Regions from separate parts of the Homo sapiens genome. Here all the other regions are linked to region 2. The links are contacts of gene promoters, found by promoter capture Hi-C in blood cells and fetal thymus (Javierre and others, 2016). All regions are on one chromosome and are shown on one strand. The core of a region is centred on a gene start or on the middle of the fragment in contact, and the rest is flanking DNA. Distances in the headings are between cores, read along the strand shown. Region 1 has its middle 49 kb from the start of BAIAP2L1. Region 2 holds the start of TMEM130 (transmembrane protein 130). Region 3 overlaps MYH16 (myosin heavy chain 16).

The links. The method cuts DNA at HindIII sites, captures the fragments that hold promoters and counts their contacts. A CHiCAGO score of 5 or more calls a contact.
Region 1: a contact is called between a fragment that was not itself captured here and the fragment with the promoter of TMEM130 in region 2, in 10 of 17 cell types (naive B cells, total B cells, endothelial precursors and 7 more). The highest score is 10.9, in naive B cells.
Region 3: a contact is called between a fragment that was not itself captured here and the fragment with the promoter of TMEM130 in region 2, in 3 of 17 cell types (fetal thymus, megakaryocytes and monocytes). The highest score is 6.2, in fetal thymus.

What each region holds. Positions count from the first base shown.
Region 1 is chr7:98,447,819-98,451,854 of GRCh38, reverse strand. No RefSeq gene overlaps it. Among named protein-coding and RNA genes, the nearest start is that of BAIAP2L1, 49 kb to the right of the region's middle. The HindIII fragment of the contact is 533 bases long and covers 2,502-3,034 here.
Region 2 is chr7:98,867,242-98,871,322 of GRCh38, reverse strand. TMEM130 (transmembrane protein 130) reads left to right here and starts at 1,309. Exons shown (of 8, transcript NM_152913.3): 1 at 1,309-1,546. The coding sequence starts at 1,462. RefSeq lists enhancers at 1,239-1,824, 1,825-2,411. The HindIII fragment of the contact is 4,583 bases long and covers 1-2,938 here.
Region 3 is chr7:99,306,223-99,310,223 of GRCh38, reverse strand. It overlaps MYH16 (myosin heavy chain 16), which reads right to left. Exons shown (of 24, transcript NM_001431356.1): 23 at 3,388-3,615. The coding sequence ends at 3,415. The region is part of intron 2 of LOC105375421 (a long non-coding RNA gene); the gene reads left to right. Among named protein-coding and RNA genes, the nearest start is that of ARPC1A, 18 kb to the left of the region's middle. The HindIII fragment of the contact is 2,333 bases long and covers 701-3,033 here.

The sequences.
Region 1 (4,036 bases), core at 1,519-4,018, 420 kb after region 2:
GCCACTGCACCCAGCTTTGGGTGATTACGTTAATAAGTGACTCAACTGAACACAACAGCTGAGTTCCAAAATTCTGATGGTCACTCCCTAAAGGTAATCCAAATTAATCCCATGGGACCCGTTTCCAATGTGGCATCACCTTCAAAGACATATACCCATTAAATAAAAACTACCAAATGATATCTGATGAACGAATGCTTGTGGCTCTCAATTAAGATTACATATTAGGCTGGGTGCGGTGGCCCATGCTGTAATCCCAGCACTTTGGGAGGCCAAGGAGGGAGGATTGCCAGAGCTCAAGAGTTCCAGACCAGCCTGAACAACATGGTGAAACCCCATCTCTACTAAAAATACAAAAATTAGCCAGGCATGGTGGCATGCACCTATAGTCCCACCTACTAGGTAGGCTGAGGTGGGAGGATCACTTGAACCCAAGAAATGGAGGTTGCAGTGATGCCACTGCACTCTGGCCTGGGTGACAGAGCGAGACTCCATCTCAAAAAAAAAAAACGAAATAGGGGCAGGGTGAGGTGGTTCATGCTTGTAGTCCCAGCACTTTGGGAGGCCAAGACAGGAGAATTGCTTGAGGCCAGCAGTTCAACACCAGCCTGGGCAATCATAGAGATAGTGAGACCCCTATCTCTATGAAAAATTTAAAAATTAGCTGGGCATGGTGGTGCACACCTGTAGTCCCAGCTACTTGGGAGGCTGAGGTGGGAGGATTGCTTGAACCCAGGAGGTCAAGGCTGCAGTGAGCTGTGTACTGCTGCACTCCAGCCTGGGTGACAGAACAAGACCCTGTCTCAAAAAAAAAAAAAAAAAAAAAAAAAAGAAAGAAAGAAAGAATGTCTTTTCCAGCAACTTGGATGAAACTGGAGGCCATTATCCTTAGTGAAGTAACTCAGGAACAGAAAACCAAATACTGCATGTACTCACCAATAAGTGGGAGCTAAGCTATGGGTATGCAAAGACATGCAGAGTGGGGACATTGGAGACTCAGAAAGGGGATGATGGTAGTGGGTGACGATGAAAAACTACTTATTGGATACAAAGTACACTACTCAGGTGACAGAGGCTCTAAAATCCTAGGCTTCACCACCATACAATTCTTCCACATCCCAAAACCCACTTGTACCCCTCAAGCTACTGAAATGAAAAAAAACTTAAAAATAAATTTTTGGCTGGGTTCTGTGGCTCACGCCTGTAATCCTAGCACTTTGGGAGGCCAAGGCTGGCAGATCACCTGGGGTCAGGAGTTTGAGACCAGCCTGGCCAACATGGTGAAACCCTGCCTCTACTAAAAATACAAAACTTAGCCAGGCATGGTGGCACATGTCTGTAATTTCAGCTACTGTGGAGGCTGAGACAGGAGAATCGCTTGAACTTGGGAGGCGGAGGTTGCAGTGAGCCAAGATTGTGCCACTGCACTCCCGCCTGGTCAACAGAGTGAGATTCCGTCTCAAAAATAAATAAATAAATTTTGTTTGAGACAGAGTCTTGCTCTGTTTCCTAAATTGAAGGGCAGCAGTGCTATCATGGCTCACTGCAGCCTCAACCTCCTGTGCTCAAGTGATCCTCCCACCTCAGCCTCCTGAATAGCTTGGACTACAGGCTCATGCCATCACATCTGGCTAATTTTTGTAATTTTTCCAGGGATGGGGTCTTATTATGTTGCCTAGGCTGGTCTTGAACTCCAGGCTCAAGTGACCCTGCTGCCTCGGCCTCCCAGGTAGCTGGGACTACAGGCACGCACTACCACACCTGGCTAATTTTTTATTTGTTATAGAGATGGGGTGTCACTATATTGCCCAGGCTGGTCTCAAACTCCTGGCCTCAATCAGTCCTCCCACCTCTGTCTCCCAAAGGGCTGGGATTACAGGCATGAGCCACCATGCCCAGCCACTATTTTTTCTTTTTAAAAAAATTTTTGGCTGGGCATGGTGGCTCACGCCTGTAATCCCAGCCCTTTGGGAGGCCGAGGCAGGTGGATCATCTGAGCTCAGGAGTTCAAGACCAGCCTGGCCAACATTGTAAAACCCCGTCTCTACTAAAAATGCAAAAATTAGCCGGGTGTGGTGGCACGTGCCTATAATCCGAGCTACTCGGGAGGCTGAGGCAGCAGAATCACTTGAACCTAGGGGCAGAGGTTGCAGTGAGCTGAGATCATGTCACTGCACTCCAGCCTGAGGGTCAGAGTGAGACTCTCAAAAAATAAATAAATAAATAAATAAAATAAAATAAAAAAGAAAAGAAAAAATAAATTGACAGAGCCACACCGAGTGTAAGAAACTAATCAGATCTATTCAGCTAGAAAACCAATTTTGCACAACTGTGTCCATTTTCCTCCCAAGGAGTTTTACACCTTGATGCAAATCGGGAGATTGTTGGAAAGTGGAATTTCATGTTAATTTGCATTTCTGACCGTGGAGGGGTAGGTGAAATGTGACTTCTTTTCTATGGCACAGATAAGAGTGGCACTCTGAGAGGCTCAAAAGGAAGCTTCCTCCCCCAAATGCCATCCTCAACATAACCGTGAAACAAAAATGGCGCATCTCAGAAGGACCTTGGTGGTGTCGTTGGAAGGTAGATTAACAAGAATGATACCTGCAAGCTGTAATTGTGCTTGCTTTCCCTGACATACAGTAGGTGCCCCATAAACCTCTGATGGCTGGATGAATTAACAAGTGAATGAGCTCTTTATTCAAGGGTCCTACCCCAAACCAGCATCCCTCAACCAGTCCTTCCATCACCATCTAGGTGATTGGGGGTTGTTGATGGAAAAAGGCAAGAACCAAATTTGCAAACTCCCCTGCTGGCTTCACAATAATTCATGCTCATCTGCGTCTAATAAAATATAGAAGCAATTTTACAGGAACATTTTGTGCTTTAGCGATTCATTTAACTCTTTCCTCCAGGGGGCAAGTCGTATATCCTCATCCAGATATGTGGGAAGTTCCGTGAATAAATCTGCAAATATCTTAAGATGAAATGTTCCTCTCCCCACCGGGAGCCCTGACTCTAGCGAAGGAAAGCTTGTAAGTGAACACCAACCGGGCTTATCCTGGCCTCCTCTCCTACCCATAGTTTCCTGCCCCTGTGTCTGTCCCACTGCCCAAGTGACCTGAAATTGCTAGAGGAGGTGAGTGCTGAAGTCAGCGTCCTCAGAGCCAAGGACATTGTCTTCTAGAACCAAGTTCACCCCTTTACTTGGCAGGACCTCCAAGAGATGAGCTGCTGTCCACCCCATCAGCCCTCAACACCAGACCACCAGGAAGGACAGACGCTCAGGAGCCACAGCCGCTGCCACCATCCCCTCAGACACCACGAACAGCCCCTTCACTGTTCCTGGCTGTGTCTGCCTCTATGAGCTGCCCCCAAACTCCTTGCAGATTTAGGAACTGATGAATAAAAATGAGTAACACCTGCCCCAAGCTGCCTATTGCTCCATTCACGTCCTGATTTTCTGGGTCACCAATTTTTTTTAATTAAACTTTTCATTTTCAGATGATTGTAGATTCACATGCGGTTGTAAGAAATAATACAGAGAGAGCTCTTGAACTCCCTTACCTGGTTTCCCCCAGTGGTAGCATCTTGCAAAACTATAGTACAATATTGGGTCACCAATTTTCTTTTTTCTTTTTCTTTTTCTTTTTTTTTTTTTTTTGAGCCGGAGTCTCACTCTGTCACCCAGGCTGGAGTGCAGTAGTGCAATCTCAGCTCACTGCAACCTCCACCTCCCAGGTTCAAGCAATTCTCCTGCCTCAGCCTCCCAGGTAGCTGGGATTACAGGTGCCTGCTCCCATGCCCAGCTAATGTTTTTGTATTTTTAGCAGAGATGGGGTTTCACCACGTTAGCCAGGCAGGTTTCAAACTCCTGACCTCAGGTGATCTGCCCGCCTTGGCCTTCCGAAGTGCTAGGATTACAGGCATGAGTCACCGCGCCTGGCCCAATTTTTTTTTTCTTTTTTAGGAGGCAGGGCCTCGCTCTGTCACCCACACTGGAGTGCAGTGGCACAACCATAGCTCGCTGCAACCC
Region 2 (4,081 bases), core at 60-2,559:
CCTTGATGTCAATGCACTGGGTGGTGCAGTGATGGTCCATCCGTGCTCCACGGGCCAGAGAGGAGGTCAAAGGCCCTCACTGTGTGGGAGGATCCCTCGCCCAGGTAGCCGTAGCAAAGCGGAAGCATAGCTGGGACCAGAACCCACCGGGCTTCCAGCGTTTAAGGCCAGCCAGGCCCCTCCAGCTTCTAGGAGAGCCCAGCCCTGCTCCTCTAAGGCAAATGGCAGTAACTGTGTAGGCTGGTCACCCCTCACCGCAGTAGCCTGACTCCCACAAGGCCCTCAGTGACAAAGAAGTTGCCCTGGGCCCAGATACGAGCAGGAGCCCCATCTTAACAGCAGCTGTGAGAGGGTAAACCGGGGGATGACATCAAGCCCACGGCAGGGGCCGGGTGCTCAGGCCCCTCTATCAAGAAGGGGCAAGAGGCTGGGCACAGTGGCTTACACCTGTAATCCCAACATTTTGGGAGGCTGAGGCGAGAGGATCACTTGAGGCCAGGAGTTTGAGACCAACCTGGCCAACATGGTGAAACCCCGTCTCTACTAAAAATACAAAAATTAGCCAGGCCTGGTGGCGGGCACCTGTAATCCCATCTTACTAGGGAGGCTGAGGCAGGAGAATCGCTTGAACCCGGGAGGCGGAGGTTGCAGTGAGCCGAGATCGCGCCATTCTGGGACAGAGCGAGACTCTGTCTCAAGATTAAAAAAAAAAAAAAAAGAAAAGAGGAAGCAGCAGCAGCAGCAGCAGCAAGAGGAATTTCGAGGCCTTTCGCCCAACGCCTGGCGCACCTTAAGCTCTCAACAGTTCTTGAATGAGGAGTAGCATCTCGGAGCCACGAGCGTGCAGAGAGAAGGCACCTGGAGGAGAGCCCCAAGGGACCTGCAGGCGGCTTGCAGCGCAGCGCACGCCCCTGGGGACGCTGAGTCAGAGCCGGCGGCATCGGATCCAGGGCGGGGAGGGGCTCGGGGGAAGGGAAAAATGCGGGTGCGGGGGGCGTGGTTTCGGGTAGTGGAGGGGAAGGATGCGGCCGGGGGTGGATTTGGGGTGGGGAGGGATGCGGGGAGGAGCCAGGGCGCAGGAAGGGAGCTCTGGAACCCCTAGAGGGGAAGCAAGCTGGGAGGGGCGATCGTGGACTCCAGGAGGGCAGGGGGCGCGGCCGTGGGAAGAGACCCGGAGAGGGAGGACGCGGCCGTGGAGAGGGACGCGGGAGCAAGGGGCGGCGGGAGGAGGAGGAGGGCGCGCGGCGCGGCTGACGTGGGCCGGGGTCGCGCAGCGGGCTGTGGGCGGCGGCGGCGGCGCGCAGCGACAGAGCGTCCCCCGGCGAGGACGAGCGAGCACGGCGCCCGCACCTCCCCGCACCGCCCGCGCTGCGCGCCCGGAGGAGCGACCGCCGCAGTTCTCGAGCTCCAGCTGCATTCCCTCCGCGTCCGCCCCACGCTTCTCCCGCTCCGGGCCCCGCAATGGCCCAGGCAGTGTGGTCGCGCCTCGGCCGCATCCTCTGGCTTGCCTGCCTCCTGCCCTGGGCCCCGGCAGGGGTGGCCGCAGGTAAGGCGCTGGGCAATCCGGCCTCCCTGCAGCCGCAGCCCGCCCGGGGCCTGGAACCGTCTCAGCGGGCGAGTGGGCCCGGGAGCAGGGATTGCGGAGGTGGCACCGTGCGCCCTGCGCGCATCTCCCTCCTCGGCTGAGGCCACTGCAGCGCCCTTTCCCCTCTCCTTTCATCCTTGTTCCCCAAAGTCGCCTGGGCACTGGAGGGGGCTCCCCGCACCCCCTGGATTCCTGCTTCCACCCCCCCAGGCTGGCCCTGCCCTGGAAACCGCGCGGGGGTGGCCGGCGCATCCGTCGATGCCTGGGGACCATGCACCCGCTAAGGGAGGGGAGGACGAGGCAGGGAGGCGGGGATGCGCCAGGGTCCGTCATCGCGCCACAATTCCCCAGTCCCCCAGGGAGCACGGGATGGGCAACGTTTTTGCCTTAAAATGTCGCCTCATCTAGAGGGGTTTCCCACCGTGTTGGTGCTGGCTTTGGGGAGATGCGAATTTAGAGCCCAGGAGGCCAGGCTGCCATTTCCTCTCTGGTGGTGATTTCCAAAATGGACCCGGAGCTGACAGGTTCCTGGGGTGTGTGTGTGGGTGGGGGAGTGGGGGAAGCAGGGTTGTGTGTCTACTGCCCCCACTTCCCCACCGCCAGAAAGCCAGCACCCACCTCTCTGCCACATTTTGGGAACCATAAAAGGACCCAGATTTAAGACTATTCGAGGGACAGATGGGACGTGGGCAGCTAAGAAGGTTGAATACTATCCACCACTTTTCACCCCCTCCCCCCTCATAAAAGAGCGGTGGAGAGAGAGAGCAAGGGATCTAATGAAAATTTGTGAAAGAAAAACCATGAGGTCAAAGAAAACCTGCAACTCAGGGATGAATTAGACGAATTTTATGGGAATTGCACTTGGACAAGATTACCTATTTCCTCCTGGAAATACAGGAAAGGGGTCTCTTGTCCATCAGGTTGATTTGTGTCAGAGATTTTCAATGTGTCCTAAATTGCAAAAGAAAAAGAAAATAATAACAAAAGTGAATTAATTATTTGGAAATCATGTGTGGTTCCCATTCTAGCCAATTGCACCCTTGATGTGGTCAAAATCACAGTGGCTAAGAGTGGAGTTGGGAAACATCTTCTCCCTCACCCGTCGGGGAGACTTTTCTACCCTTCCCCTTTCTGGAGTCCATGAATCAGGGATTTGTAAGTCAGAAGTCCATGTACTGGACTATTAATTAATTCTGGGTTGTGTTATCCAGACTTTAGAGGTACTCTTTGGAAGTGTTTTGGGTAGTCTGCATATTCTGTGTGAAAGGACTGGTGTAGCCATTTTCTAGAATGTTCAGGGCTGCACATGCTGTGTTGCTGGAAAAGGTAGGTGTTTCTTCCATGGGCCAAGCTTTGGGGTGAGTGCCCCATCTCTTTTTGCTTTTGCCCCTTGAGCTCTGGGTGACTTGGGGGGCCCTTGGAGTCCCCTAAACCTCTGCCTTGGCTGCTCCATACCCCAACTCCATGTCACATGGACTCCCAAACATGGAAAGATGAATTTGTTTGTTTGAGATGCAGTCTTGCTCTGTCACCCAGGCTGGAGTGCAGTGGCACAATCTTGGCTCACTGCAACCTCCACCTTCTGGGTTCAAGAAATTCTCCTGCCTCAGCCTCCCAAGTAGCTGGGATTACAGGCGCCTGCCACCACACCTGGCTAATTTTTGTATTTTTAGTAGAGATAGGGCTTCGCCATGTTGGCCAGGCTGGTCTCGAACCTCTGGCCTCAGGTGATCCACCTGTCTCAGCCTCCCAAAGTGCTGGGATTACAGGTGTGAGCCACCACGCCGGCCTGGAAAGATGAATTTGGTGGGTAGAGCACCAGGCCCTGTGATTGGTTCCTTCAGCCACATTTGGCAAAGGCTTCCTGGTCCATTTCCACCCTGGATGTCCTGGCCATCCCTGAGACCCCTGAGGAACAGGGGCAGCATCACCCAGGGGCTGTGACACACCTGATTTTGAAAAAACAGACTGAGAAAAAGTGTCCTTGGAGCTGGCAGGTGGTGGTGGGGGAGTCGGCGGGCTCCCATGAGCTGGGCCAGTGTCTGCAGCAATGTCTGCAGCAGACACAGCCCCTCCCTGCCCCCCATCCCCCCTCCCAGTCCCAGCTGGCTGCCCTCCTGATCCATTCCCCTGGCAACCGATCTGCGTGATAACATGCGTCTGTCTCACTGCAGATGCTGTTTGGCCATTAGCATGCAGCCGAATGTCCCTGCTACCTGCCAGCCTCGCTCAGGCCCACGCTTCTCAGCTGGGGTGGCAGGGAGGGGATGGGGAGGAGAGGGGTGCCAGGAGTTAGGGGGATAAGGGAGGAGGTGGTCTCTCATCCATGCACCTCTCTGTCCACAGCCTGGCCAAATGCTGCCTCCCAGCCAAAGTGGGGAGGGAGAGCAAAGCCCAACCAGGGTAGTACAGACTGGTTGGGTGGCCTCAGGCAGCAGCAGTGACCCATGCGGGCTTCAGGTCCCTCAATATCATATACCCACTCTGTTTGCGTGG
Region 3 (4,001 bases), core at 618-3,117, 440 kb before region 2:
CCATCTACTCCAGCCAGCCTGTGCCCTTGTGCACATCCCACCTTTGCACTTTTGTGTGTGTTGGGCCTTCTGTCTGGAATTCCCTTCTCTCCTCTGCCTGGTGAAGGATCGGTTTTATTTATTCTCTTAAATTTCTGTTAAAATATTTTATATTTATGTTTTTAATTTTTTTCTTTTCAGTTTTTTTTTATTTTTTTATTTTTCTGGAGACGGACTCTCACTCTTGTTGCCCAGGCTGGAGTGGCACAATCTCGGCTCACTGCAACCTCTGCCTCACAGGTTCAAGCAATTCTCCTGCCTCAACCTCCTGAGTAGCTGGGATTACAAGGACCTGCCATCATGCCTGGCTTATTAAATAAAAACAAAATGGATGGATCAGGACATGGAGAGTAGACCCCAGAGGCACAGCCTCATCACCTCTGGGTGCCGGTGGCAGGATAGCAGCCTGATGGCATGGAAGTAGATCCTTGCTGTGACAGAGCAATTGTACCAGGTCCAGCCAAACCAGGGCAGGGGACCTGCTTTAAAGGATGTCTAATCCTGGAGCCTAAGACTCCTAGTGGAAGGAGCTGAACTGCCTTCTGAGTCTGGGTGTACAGGAAGCCTCATGAGTAGTTCCCACCTAGGTCAGAGCTCACTGGGAGGGATCCCTTTCAGGTTTTTGCCTGAAAGGTAAAACACATTAATGCAGAGACAAGCTTCTGATTTCCTTAACTTCCTGACCTAACCATTATTTCAGGGTTAGAGAATTCAGAAAAAGATTCTGTGCCCCATATTTTATCTCCTCCCTAAGCAAACGGTCAGATAAAGCTCAGCTTCACATCAAAGTTCAATGGGGTTATCGCTTTTGGCCAAAACCCAAACTGACCACCATTACTGAAAGATAGCGAATCGTAACTGAGCAGGGAAACTTACCCTCCTCACTAGGGGCTGATTCAACAAGCTGTTGATTCAGTGAGGCCAGATATAATTCCCAGAAGCCACGGAGGTCGGTGCTTAGGGTTCAGCCCCACCCCACCTCCCAAAGCGAACCAGTCTTTGATTTTTTGCTGCCCTGATTAATCCCACATAGAGGGCAACCATATCAATCTCCACAGTAACTTCAAATAAAAGATAACTTGCCTTTTCATAGCACAGGGTGTGTGTGACCATGAGCAAGTCACCAAACTTCTCCAAGCTCATTTTCCTCACCTGACAAACGGGGATATTTATACCTACCTTGTAGGGTAGAAAAGAGAGTGAAAAGCATTTTCCATGCACTTAGCCACCACCACGCTCATTTTTTACATTTTTTTGTAGAGATAGGGTCTTGCTATGTTGCCCAGGCTGGTCTCGAACTTCTGGCCTCAAGTGATCCTCCCACCTTGGCCTCCCAAAGTGTTGGGATTAGAGGCGTGAGACACTGCGCCCAGCCCTTTCAGTTGCCTTTTCTTTCTTAGCACTTGGCTCTTGTTAAAGGAGAAACCTCCACACCCTGGCTCCATGTATCTGGGTGGTTCTCAAACTCAGTCACACATCTGAGTCACCTGGAGGGCTTGCTAAATCACAGATGCTGGGCCCACCCCCAGAGCTGCTGATGCATAGGTCTGGAGCCAGGCCTAAGAATAGGCACTTCTAAGAATGTCGTAGGTGACACTGATGCTGCTGGTCCCGGGACCATGTTTTGGGATCCACTCCTCCAGAATCACATTCTGTGCCTTACCCCTCATTTTCCTTTTGCTTCTGTCCATGGGAAAAGGAGTGATTGATCTTGTTTTTGGAATAAGGAACCAGGAAGGCAGAGCTGAGCCCCATCTAATCTCTCCTTTTAGATCTACTCCCAGGGATGATGGGTTCTGATTGTTCCTCTCCTAGGAATAGTGGCTACTCCCCGGGGATCAAGCCTGCATTTGTTCAGTTCTGGTTTTTTTTTTTTTTTTTTTTTTTTTTTAGACAGAGCCTCGCTCTGTCACCCAGGCTGGAGTGCAGTGGCGTGATCTTGGCTCACTGCAACTCGTGCCTCCTGGGTTCAAGCAATTCTAGTGCCTCAGCCTCCCGAGCAGCTGGGATTACAGGCGTGTGCCATCACGCCTGGCTAATTTTGTATTTTTAGTAGAGTTGGGGTTTCAGGTATCTTTAATTTTGAGGCAAAGTATGAGGATGCCTATGGTGGACACACATTAAAGCCCCATCCTCAATCTAGAATTATGGCATATTAAAACTGGTATTTGGGTCAGGCATGGTGGCTCATGCCTGTAATCCCAGCACTTTGGGAGGCTGAGGCAGGTGGATCACAAGGTCAAGAGACTGAGACCATCCTGGCCAACATGGTGAAACCCCGTCTCTACTAAAAATACAAAAATTAGCTGGGCATGGTGGTGTGCACCTGTAGTCCTAGCTACTTGGGAGAACTGCTTGAACCTGGGAGGCGGAGGTTGCAGTGAGCCGAAATCCCACCACTGCACTCCAGCCTGGTGACAGAGTGAGACTCTCAAATAAATAAATAAAACTAGTATTTTGACTTTTTTTTCTTTGAGATGGGGCCTCACTGTGTTGCCCAGGCTGGAATGCTAGATCATTGTAACCTCAGACTCCTGGGCTCAAGGGATCCTCCTATCTCAGCCTCCTGAGTAACTGGGACTACAGGTGTGCACCACCATGCCTGGATAATTTTTTTTTATTTTTGTAGAGACAGGGTTTCACTGTGTTGCCCAGGCTGGTCTTGAACTCCCGGGCTTAAACCATTTTCCCCCTTGGCCTCTGAAAGTACTAGGATTTACAGGCACAAGCCACTGTGCCCAGCCTATTTTAACTTTTATATATTTATCTCCAATATTTTTTGTCCTTGATTAGTTCTGAATTAAGGGGAATAAAGACTACTTTAAATTGTTTCCTTAAAATCCCACCTGCACTCAGTGTTCAAGAAATGGTAGCTGTGATGATAATTATCATTTTCTTAGTGTTAGAGACCTGAATTCAACCAGGATTGATGAAATCTCCAGTGAAAAATGATATTGTGGGGGACACGAAAGATAACACACATTGCCATAAGCTTGTGGACGTCCCTGTGACTGTACTAAGCACCTAGGTTCCAAGGCTAGTGTCAAGTGGCATCACACTTGGGAACCGCCCTTCTGTGCAGATGGGGGAACATCAGGTCGGCCAGCACCTGTGATACAGGTGAACAGCACCCCACCCGAGGGCTGTGACACTCTAGAGGAGTTTTGCAGCTGAAGAAGGAGGGGAAGAGCTTTGGGGTTCCTGTTGCATGAGACTGGGTGTGACAAAGACTGGAGCTGGGGAGCAGGGGGAGTATGGCTGGGTCACATAGTACCAATACTAGCAGCAAAGCCAGTGCAGGGAAGGAGCGCTCTGAGCGAGACCGTCCAGAGCGGAGTCCACACCTACCAGTTGTGGCCTAGGACACGGAGGGCCTCACTCCTCAGAAAGGGTTTTCGAGGTGCCTGTCTTGGACACCTGGATGATCTCCACAGAGGTGATGCCCTTGCCGGCCACGCGGTGTCTGGTGCGCAGCTTGTTTAGGGCAGTCTCTGCCATGCCAGCCCGGTCCTCAGCGTCATCCAGCTCATGCACCGTCTTCCTGTATCGAGCCAAGGTCTGGTTGGCCTGGTCCTCCTGTGACAAAGGCACGGCGGGAAACGGGGCATAAACGTGGCTGGTTCTGGTTAAGTGTGCATTAAAAAAAAATTTTTTTTTTGAGAGACAGTCTCGCTCTGTCGCCCAGGCTGGAGTGCAGTGGTCTGATCTCGGCTCGCTGCAACCTCCACCTCCTAGGTTCCAGCAATTCTCCTGCCTTAGCCTCCCAAGTAGCTGGGATTAAGGTGCCCGCCACCACGCCTGACTAATTTTTGTATTTTCAGTAGAGATGGGTTTCACCATGTTGGCCAGGCTGGTCTCAAACTCCTGACCTCAGGTGATCCACCTACCTCGACCTCCCAAAGTGCTGGGATTACAGGCATGAGCCACCATGCCTGGCCTCTTTACAAGTTCTTATCTCTGGT